Regions from separate parts of the Homo sapiens genome. Here all the other regions are linked to region 2. The links are contacts of gene promoters, found by promoter capture Hi-C in human tissues and cell types (Jung and others, 2019). All regions are on one chromosome and are shown on one strand. The core of a region is centred on a gene start or on the middle of the fragment in contact, and the rest is flanking DNA. Distances in the headings are between cores, read along the strand shown. Region 1 overlaps GMDS (GDP-mannose 4,6-dehydratase). Region 2 holds the start of FOXC1 (forkhead box C1). Region 3 overlaps GMDS (GDP-mannose 4,6-dehydratase).

Region 1 (2,864 bases), core at 236-2,735, 200 kb before region 2:
CAAGGCATCACTTTAGGAATTTTATGATTCTTTCTGTCTCCTGGGACATCATGTAAAGTTTTCAAATGATAAAAGAAGCCTCAAAAAGTTATTTCTTTTTCTCAAGTCAGGTGAAGATAGGAATGGCTCAGGAGTAGCAGTTTCTAAAATAACCTCACTTAGGCATTGAGCGCTGGGTTTCTCTTCTGAACCTTCATCTAACGAACGCTTTAAAGTGATTAGCTTAGAAAAAAATAATTCTTATTCTTTCCCAAGATTCTTGAAAACATATTGATTCTTAATATCTAATTTTATTTCAATTTTTTTAATTAAGGTTTTTTTTTTTTTTTTTTTTTTTTTAAGAGACAGAGTCTTGCTCTGTCACACAGGCTTCAGTGCGGCGGCACATTCACAGCTTCCTGTAGCCTTGAACTCCTAGGCTCAAGTCATCTTCCCGCCTCAGCCTCCTGAGTAGCTGGGACTGTGCTCATACACCACCAGACCCAGCTAATTAAAAAAAATTTTTTTGGTAGAGATGGGGTTTTGCTGTGTTAGCCCAGCTGGTCTCGACCGCCTCAAGCAGTCCTCCTGCCTTGGTCTCCCGAAGTTCTGGGATTACAGGCATGAGCCACCATGCTTGGCTTAATAACTTATTTTAGAAGCACCTAGAGAATAATAAAAAAGATAAAGCAATAAAAGCACTAACAAAAATAAATTTCTGTTCCCAGTATACATTCTTTTTGTACTGAAGTCTAAGAAATCTACATCAAACTGAGCCTTTTGTTTTCTTTTCAAAAACAGATGAAAAAACCATCTACCTCCTCTTCAATGAGACTGAGAATTTACACTAACAAATCTCAAACCTGGTTGCATAATAACTGCAGCTTCCTCAGCCCCTGGTTTGCAGATCCTGAATCAGTCGGTGGGGGGTTTGGGAACTGGAATCGAGTTGTCCTCCTCCTGTTCTGGTGTCTCTGACCTGCTCCCTTCCTTTTGTGGCTTCTCCTCTGTGTCCCCTTTGCTGCCCCTTCTCTTCCTCTTCCTCCTCTCCCTCTCCCCCTTGCCTTTCTTTCCTCTGCCCTTTCTTCTTTTTTTCCCCTCAGATCCTCCTCCTGAGTTTCCTAGAAGATTCTACAGCTGCCAACACTGGGAACCTCTGGTTTGCTCTACTTTTCTAAATTTACTGTTAGCGAAACTGTGGAGGCCCCAGTAGGTAATCCTCTGGTCCTAGTTTATGGACTGAAATCCCCCTTCTCACGCTCTCTTCACATCAGTCACCAGGGTCCTGGGCCTTTCTTTAACTTGCTCTGTGCTCGGAGTCCTGTGTACTTTGCTGGTCCTGTTTACTCTGCCTGGACTACACAGCCTCTCCCTGGCTTGTGAGCTCCTCCTCGTTCTATAAGGTCCTCCTCTAAAATGTTGCCTCTGTGAGTTTTGCGCCAATCTACCTTTTACACCATTCAAAACGAATTCCTCTCTCTGCGGTACTTCTATAGCACTAGTGCAGATCTGTATTTAGCATTTATTAGATCTTAATTGTAGATCTCTTCCCCTACTTGACTATGATTCCTCGGACAGTAGAAAGGTATCATTTGTATATTTCCAGCAGTGTACCTGGAACATAGTAGGTGTACAATGAACATTGGTTAAATGAATATCAGAGCTTTTGATTCTAATATGAAAACAGAGCTTTTTAAAATTAGGTACTTAATTTCTAGTGGATTTGTGTTAGATAGCCCAAGAGAATTCTGTGGACATTGTACTGTAATGGACCATCAAACTTACTCAAAGAATTGCAGATAGCAAAATAGGAATAGAAAACCAGTACATCACTGTCATTAAACGTGGAGTGCCTACTGTGTGCAGTGGCAGTGGAGGATGAGCAGTATTTGCATCTTTCAGTGAGGCACGAAGGTTGTGCCTGTAGATGTTTCAAATGCTTGTTGTAACAGGAAGCAAGACACCTCTTTCCCGTAAGTCTCCAGAAAGCATTGTGAAGGGCTTCAGTTGAAAAAAAAAAAAAAAAAAGCTTGACTAGTCTAAATATTTTAATTATTGTACAAATAAGATTTTGTGTCTTAAAGATACAATAAAATGAAATAATCTACTCCAGTTAAAAGCAGTACTCATTTATTTCATTTATTGAAGGTGTTTTTAATCACCTACTCTGTGAAAAATACTGGAGAATTATAACTAGACATTAATAAAACTCAGCTGATAAGGCTTCCATGACTTGTTTGTCCAAATGTCTATTCATGGCAGTTCAAACTTCATGGCATCATACTGAATATTAGAAAAGATCGCAAGAGTATGTTCTTAGATGACTTTTATGGAAAAGGACATATTTCTTTTTGACAAGGGTGAAAGATCTTAAATAATTATTTTATCATTTCAACTTCAGAAATATATGAGCGTTTACTCAGCACAGCATTGTCTTGTGGTCAGTGAAGTAATCAGAAAACCAAAAGAAGACTGTAAAAGTCTTTCCTCTAAACACAGGACCAGCTCTCATCAAGATTCTGTTTCATGTTGTCAGAATCTTCCTAAAACAATTACAAACCACTTTACAGCAATACTGGGAGAGGGAAAAAAAAAACTAGGAGAAAAGACAAGCTCATGCCTAAGTATCATTGTGAGATACTTCCCGTTTCCACAGAAAATGCCACAAGGATACATAATTGCCACAAAGGTATGTTTTTAGTTTCCATTATTGTTCTGTTTAAAAGCCAAAATGCCTAACTTTGATCATTAAATGGTGTTCTAATGAAATTAGCCACAGTGATAAAGGAATAATCGTTCTAAATGCCAATCTGATCTCGCCATTGGCCTGCTTGTCTGCAAGGTTATGTCCAGTCATCTCCTTTGGCTGAGGAAACCCTTAGTAA
Region 2 (2,832 bases), core at 206-2,705:
GAAGCCCTGGCTATGGTGCGGCGGCGGGGCGGAGGGCGCGGGCGGCGGCGGCGCGGAATCCGCACCGTCCAGGCTGAGCGGCCGCGCCGACGGCAGGCTGCCCGGGGGGCTGCTCCCGCTGGACAGGCTGCTGCTGCTGCTGTCGGGGCTCTCGATCTTGGGCACCGCGGCGGCGCTGCCGCTGCCCAGGGCGGCGGCCGGGGACAGGGGCTGGGGCGGCGAGGGGCACGTACCGTTCTCGGTCTTGATGTCCTGGATGCGCACGGGCGGCGGCTGCGGACCGGGCGCGTTGCCGTCGGCCTGCTCCGGCGGCGCGGGCGGGGGCTGGCGGCCGGGCGGGGGCGGCTCCTTGAGGTGCAGCCTGTCCTTCTCCTCCTTGTCCTTCACCGCGTCCTTCTTCTTGAAGCGCCGCCGCCGCCGCAGGAAGCTGCCGTTCTCGAACATGTTGTAGGAGTCCGGGTCCAGCGTCCAGTAGCTGCCCTTGCCCGGCTTCTTGTCGTCGCGCGGCACCTTGACGAAGCACTCGTTGAGCGAGAGGTTGTGGCGGATGCTGTTCTGCCAGCCCTGCTTGTTGTCCCGGTAGAAGGGGAAGCGGTCCATGATGAACTGGTAGATGCCGTTCAGGGTGATCTTCTTGTCCGGGGCGTTCTGGATGGCCATGGTGATGAGCGCGATGTAGCTATAGGGCGGCTTCACCATGTCCTTGGGCTGCGGCTGCGGCGTGTAGGGCCCGTAGGCGCGGGCCATGCCGCCCGGGTACTGCTCGGCGTGCGCAGGGTGCGAGTACACGCTCATGGGGGCCGGCATGGCGGTGTAGCCGCCCCCGGCCGCCGCGGCCGCCGCGCGGTAGTAGCTCTGCTCGCCGCCGAGGTAGGGCACCACTCCCAGGGAGTTGGGGCTGGACACGGAGTAGCGCGCCTGCATGGCCCCCGCTCGCCGCCGCCCCGCGCCGCCCGCCGCCCCCCACCCTCGCTCGGGCCGGGCCGCGCCGCGCCGGCCGCCGAGTCCGAGTCCGGGCCCGGCCGAGCTGGTGCCGGCCCGCTGCGCTGTGCGTCCGGCTGCGCTGCCGCCTCTCCCGGCGCTCGCTGGGGCTGGCTCCTCCGGCGCCTCGGGCTACCTCGGGGCCCGCGCGGCCGCGAGGCGGGGTCGCTGCGAGGGGAGAAGGCCGGGCCCGGCCGCGGCAGACCGCCTTGCAGGAACTCGCGGCGCAGCTTCCAGGCGCAAACGGGGGAAAGCAGACAAAAAGAAAGAACAAGCAGGCGCCCTTCTCGCCACACTGCCTGCGCCTTCCAGGAGACTCTGCCCTGAGCTGCCGGCGAAGGCGGCCAAATAACCAGGGCGGGGGGGGGGGGGGCCGCGCGCCGGCCGCCTGCCCGGGCCCCGCGTCACCTTTTCTCGGTCTCTCGCGCGCCAGCCGCTTAAGGAAGCATTGGGAAAACTTCTGAACTTTTGAGCATCCGTCACCCAGGCGAGGACTTTTTTACGCAGTTACACTTTTTTCCGGGCAGCGGAGCCCCGCCCCGCCAGCGGCGGCAGCCAATGGGAGGTGAGAACCGCCTCCGAATGAGCCGGAGGCCGAGCCCTGCCGGCCCGCTCCCGGAGGCCGGAGGACCGCGGGGCTGACCACACGCGCGCCGGCCGCCCTGGCCCGGGCCCCGGCCCTGCGCCCGCGCCGGCGCCCGGCCCGCCGTCGGTTCGCCCCCCGCAGTCCACCTGCCTGCCGCCGGCGCCCGGCAGACCTCCCACCCCGGGCCCTCCGGACCCACGCCCGCCGTTCGCGCAGACTTCCTGGGTCCTCCCGGGACCCCGTGCAGACCCTTCCTTCGCCCACGGCTCCCGAGTGGCCCTGGCGTCTCCGCCCCGCCTCGTGCTGGCTCGCTCTCATTCCTTCGCCAGCCCCGCCGACGCCAGCGCTGGGGTTGCCCCAGCCTCTCCTCCCCGCCGCCTCTCCCCTCCCGCAGCCCCTTCCCTCCCTTCTCCAACGCCAGTCTCACTCGGGTCACTGACGTCTCCGGCTTTTCTCCACTTGGAGGTTCTCCTGTCCTGAACTCGGCTACAAAGGACATGATTTTGAGGGCTCGGTCACAGCCAGGCCCTGCTCGCGGTGGGGAAGAAGGTTCGTCGCCCATCTGGCCCCCCTCCATGACCCCTCCCCAGCCGAAATGAAGGCAAGGGGTGCGGGGCCCTGCTGGGAGTTTCCGACGGCCGTTCACCCGCGAAGGATGAGCCCGCCCCGCTGCGGGCCGCCCTGCTTCTCGCCCCCCTCCCCGGGGGGCCGGCCCTTGGCGGCCTGAGGGTGCGGGCGGCGAGGGCTGCCGGAGCCCGGCTGCTGCCCCGCGCTCCCCTGCCCGCCCGCGAGGGTCCCACCGGCTCGCCGCGCCGCCGCCCCCTCTGATCCCGTCAGGCCCGTTTCGGCTCAGATGAGGGGTCAGGCTGCGGGCTCGGTGACATTAGCAGGTGTGATGACAAGAAGCAAATAAATATGTCTAAGAGCTTAACGCTTCCCCAGGCCAGTCTCCATCTCCACATGCGCGGGGCTGCCGGCTCGCAGAGACAACGGGTGTGTCTGGGGGAACGTCCAGGGTCGCACCTAGAGGGCGGTTCAAGGATTCTGGGGGGACACGCACGGAAGGGCCCCCGCTCGTTGTGCACACGCCTGAGATTCGCCGTCGCTGGGTGGTTGGAATGGGACAGGAAGAAGAGAAATGAGGGAAAGAAACGAAGGAGCGGGAAAGAGCCAGGCCTCCCTCCCCCGGCACGGCGATTCTGCATTTTAGCGACTTGAGGAGAGACCCTCCCGGAGGCTGAATCCCAAGTCGTTCACTAGAAGCT
Region 3 (2,879 bases), core at 333-2,832, 180 kb before region 2:
TTATTGGGTCACTGTGACTATGCAGATTATATATTTCGGATAAATTATTAGCATTCATCTGAGTGCTTATTTAGGGTCCTGTTGCAAATGTTTCTTGAATATTTTAAAATTAAGGAGATGTTTAAATTGAGTACACTGAAATGTGGATGACTGTTAATGTGAATGAACTGCTTTCAGAATAAGAACATTTATTTACAAGTTCTTTAAATTGCAAAGCTTATTATACCATTGAAGCATTTCATGTGAACTTTCTGTTTTGAACTAATCTTTAAATTTTATTTGCATTCAAAGCATATTTCCTCCTGATTTGCCCATTTCTCATTGTTTGATTATCATTTTAAAATCTGTAATGTTTCATTCACCTTTTAATTTTTCCCCAATAAGGAAATACAGTTTATGAGGCACGCATAGATACTCTTCCTAATAAATGATTTAAGAGAAATATATGCATATATGCATCATATATCTGTATGTATATATACAGATATATGGGAAAAGGGATGAATATTCAGAAGGAAGATCAGTAGACTCCACACAGTCATTTTAGCCATTAGACTAGTGTTGTATGCATTAGTGTAATTTTGATGCCTTGTGGGTTTTAGATATAACTGGGAATTCCTTAAAAAACAAAAAATCTGTACCTCAGAGTCTTTGGTAGCATGTAGAAGTCTATGTATGAAAATACATTCATTTTTGATGATGATGATGATTGTTATTATTTTTGAGACGGAGTCTGACTGTGTCACCTTGGCAAGAGTGCAGTAGTGCTGTCTCAGCTCACTGTAACCTCTGCCTCCCGGACTCAAGTGATCCTCCCACCTCAGCCTCCAGAGTAGCTGGGACTACAGGCATGCGCCACCATGCCTGGCTAATTTTTGTGTTTTTGTTTTTGTTTTGTAGAGATGGGGCTTCGCTATGTTTCCCAGGCTGGTCTCAAACTCCTGGGCTCAAGTAATCACCCACCCCACCTCAGCCTCCCAAAGTGCTGGGATTACAGGGGTGAGCCACCGCACCTTGACCCCAGCCTCATTTTAGATTACTTAGGATATCATCGTCCAGGTGCAGTGGCTCACCCCTGTAAATTAACTTTTAAATACATTTAATCTAGAATGGACCATCTGTCTCCTTTTCAGAGGTTCCATATGATTTTTATATATTTGGGATAAGAATGACGTGTCCCGAATAGTACACATATAAAGGTCTTGTCAGGAAATGTATATAGCTCTCAATCAATCTATAAAATGATTTGGGTACCATTGTTAATATCCAGAGTTGAGAGGAAGTTTTGAAAATGATATTTAATCATTCCTTCAACCCAACAGTGTTAACCCTACTGTGTTATGAAGTCAAACTGAGGCCAAATTCTCTAAGGCTAGTACATTTTCTGCAGCTTCTCAGTACCAGATTTGACCTCAGATTCTGTCCCTAGACATAGAACATTCCATGGTTTCGACCACCAACCAAACACCCAGCTTTCTATATAATGCCGTAGTTTCCTTTCCCTGTGATTTTTGCTGATATACATGTGTCTTTGTTTATTTAAATGTTTTGTACCACCTCAGTGGTTTATATATGGTGCTGCAATTTTCCAAGTATTTTTTTTTTTGCCTCAGTGAAGTTATTTTAGAGAATATCTTAGATTAATAAATCTTTGGATTAGAGTAGACATACGTAAATGGGATTTGGAATGCAATTATTTAACTGGAAATCTTCATGGGTTTATCATAAAAGGAGAAAGAACCCTCTAGGTGTTGATAGGGCATTGGAAAAGTGGCCAGTAAATTCATTTCAAAATGTTAGGATAAACTCCTCAGATAGATCCAAACATTATATTTTGTTGTTTCTTTTTTCTCATCCTCCTGGGATAATCATTCACTGACCCAATCTTTGTTTAGAAGTATCCGTCTTCATCCCCTGTTCACTTAAAATGAAGTTATTCCCACGTAAGTGTGTAAAGCCCTTTCCATCATTCCACTTCTACCATTATTGGCGACTCTGTCCTATAGACCTAAGCACATTATATTTTAAACTGAGTACAAACATTTCTTCATTTTTGGCAATAAGCTGGTCAAACTTTCTGTTTTTTTAAAATCTTAGACATTTGGGAGAAGCACTGAGATGTGAGATACACTGGCAGGGAATTTGTGTTTCTCCAGGAATACTAAGCAAAATGAGAAACCCAGAATTCCAGGTGACCATAAAATTGCAGAGAATGAAGGAAAAGGGTAGTAATTTTCCTCTACGTGGCTTTTGACTTCCTTTGGCATTTTAAAGTAGGAAGATGAGCTGCCTTCACAATAAACTATATGTATCACCTCTGTACACAAGGTACTCCAGTCTCCACCTGCGGTGGCTCAGAAACATCCAGGTGTCCTGGAGTTGATGACATTCGCTGACATAAAAGCAGACTCATCAAGTCCATGGACATCTTAAAGATCATAAGTCAGATTTTTGTTCATGAACTTCTTGAAAGAGGTCATTTAAGGTTTCCCACCCTGGTTCAGGCCTACTTTAAGGGGAAATGGAATTTATAAGTTTATCTGAATTTCTTGTAAACTGTTCTGAAGTGAGCTGGAACTCTTAAGCTCATGTTAACCTCTATCTCTATCCCTAGAACAGATTCATAGGCTCCTAAAGCCGTCCTGGAGTAGAGAAGTACCTCACAAATGCATAGTCATTTTATCATGGGTTCTGAGACTATCATAGAACACAGGACATTGGGGAATGTATCATGACCCAGGAAACTGCCCCACAGTGCCCCTGGAGGAAACCTGAAGAAGTCGTTTGTTGAAACTAGAAGAGATCACTATTGCAGTGAGTGTAGATAGGGAAAGGGCATCAAGAAAGGGGTGAAGATGAGATACATGGGGATTAGAGGA

What was found. The method cuts DNA at HindIII sites, captures the fragments that hold promoters and counts their contacts. A contact is called where the count stands out against the background at its distance.
Region 1: a contact is called between a fragment that was not itself captured here and the fragment with the promoter of FOXC1 in region 2, in 1 of the 25 tissues and cell types used here (pancreas).
Region 3: a contact is called between a fragment that was not itself captured here and the fragment with the promoter of FOXC1 in region 2, in 1 of the 25 tissues and cell types used here (IMR-90 fibroblasts).

The regions. Positions count from the first base shown.
Region 1 is chr6:1,810,699-1,813,562 of GRCh38, reverse strand. All of the region lies in intron 7 of GMDS (GDP-mannose 4,6-dehydratase), which reads left to right. Among named protein-coding and RNA genes, the nearest start is that of FOXC1, 200 kb to the right of the region's middle. The HindIII fragment of the contact is 9,150 bases long and covers 1-2,864 here.
Region 2 is chr6:1,608,538-1,611,369 of GRCh38, reverse strand. It overlaps FOXC1 (forkhead box C1), which reads right to left and starts at 1,455. Exons shown (of 1, transcript NM_001453.3): 1 at 1-1,455. The coding sequence starts at 924. RefSeq lists an enhancer at 598-697 and a silencer at 1,028-1,647. The HindIII fragment of the contact is 11,200 bases long and covers 1-2,832 here.
Region 3 is chr6:1,793,044-1,795,922 of GRCh38, reverse strand. All of the region lies in intron 7 of GMDS (GDP-mannose 4,6-dehydratase), which reads left to right. Among named protein-coding and RNA genes, the nearest start is that of FOXC1, 180 kb to the right of the region's middle. The HindIII fragment of the contact is 3,808 bases long and covers 1-2,879 here.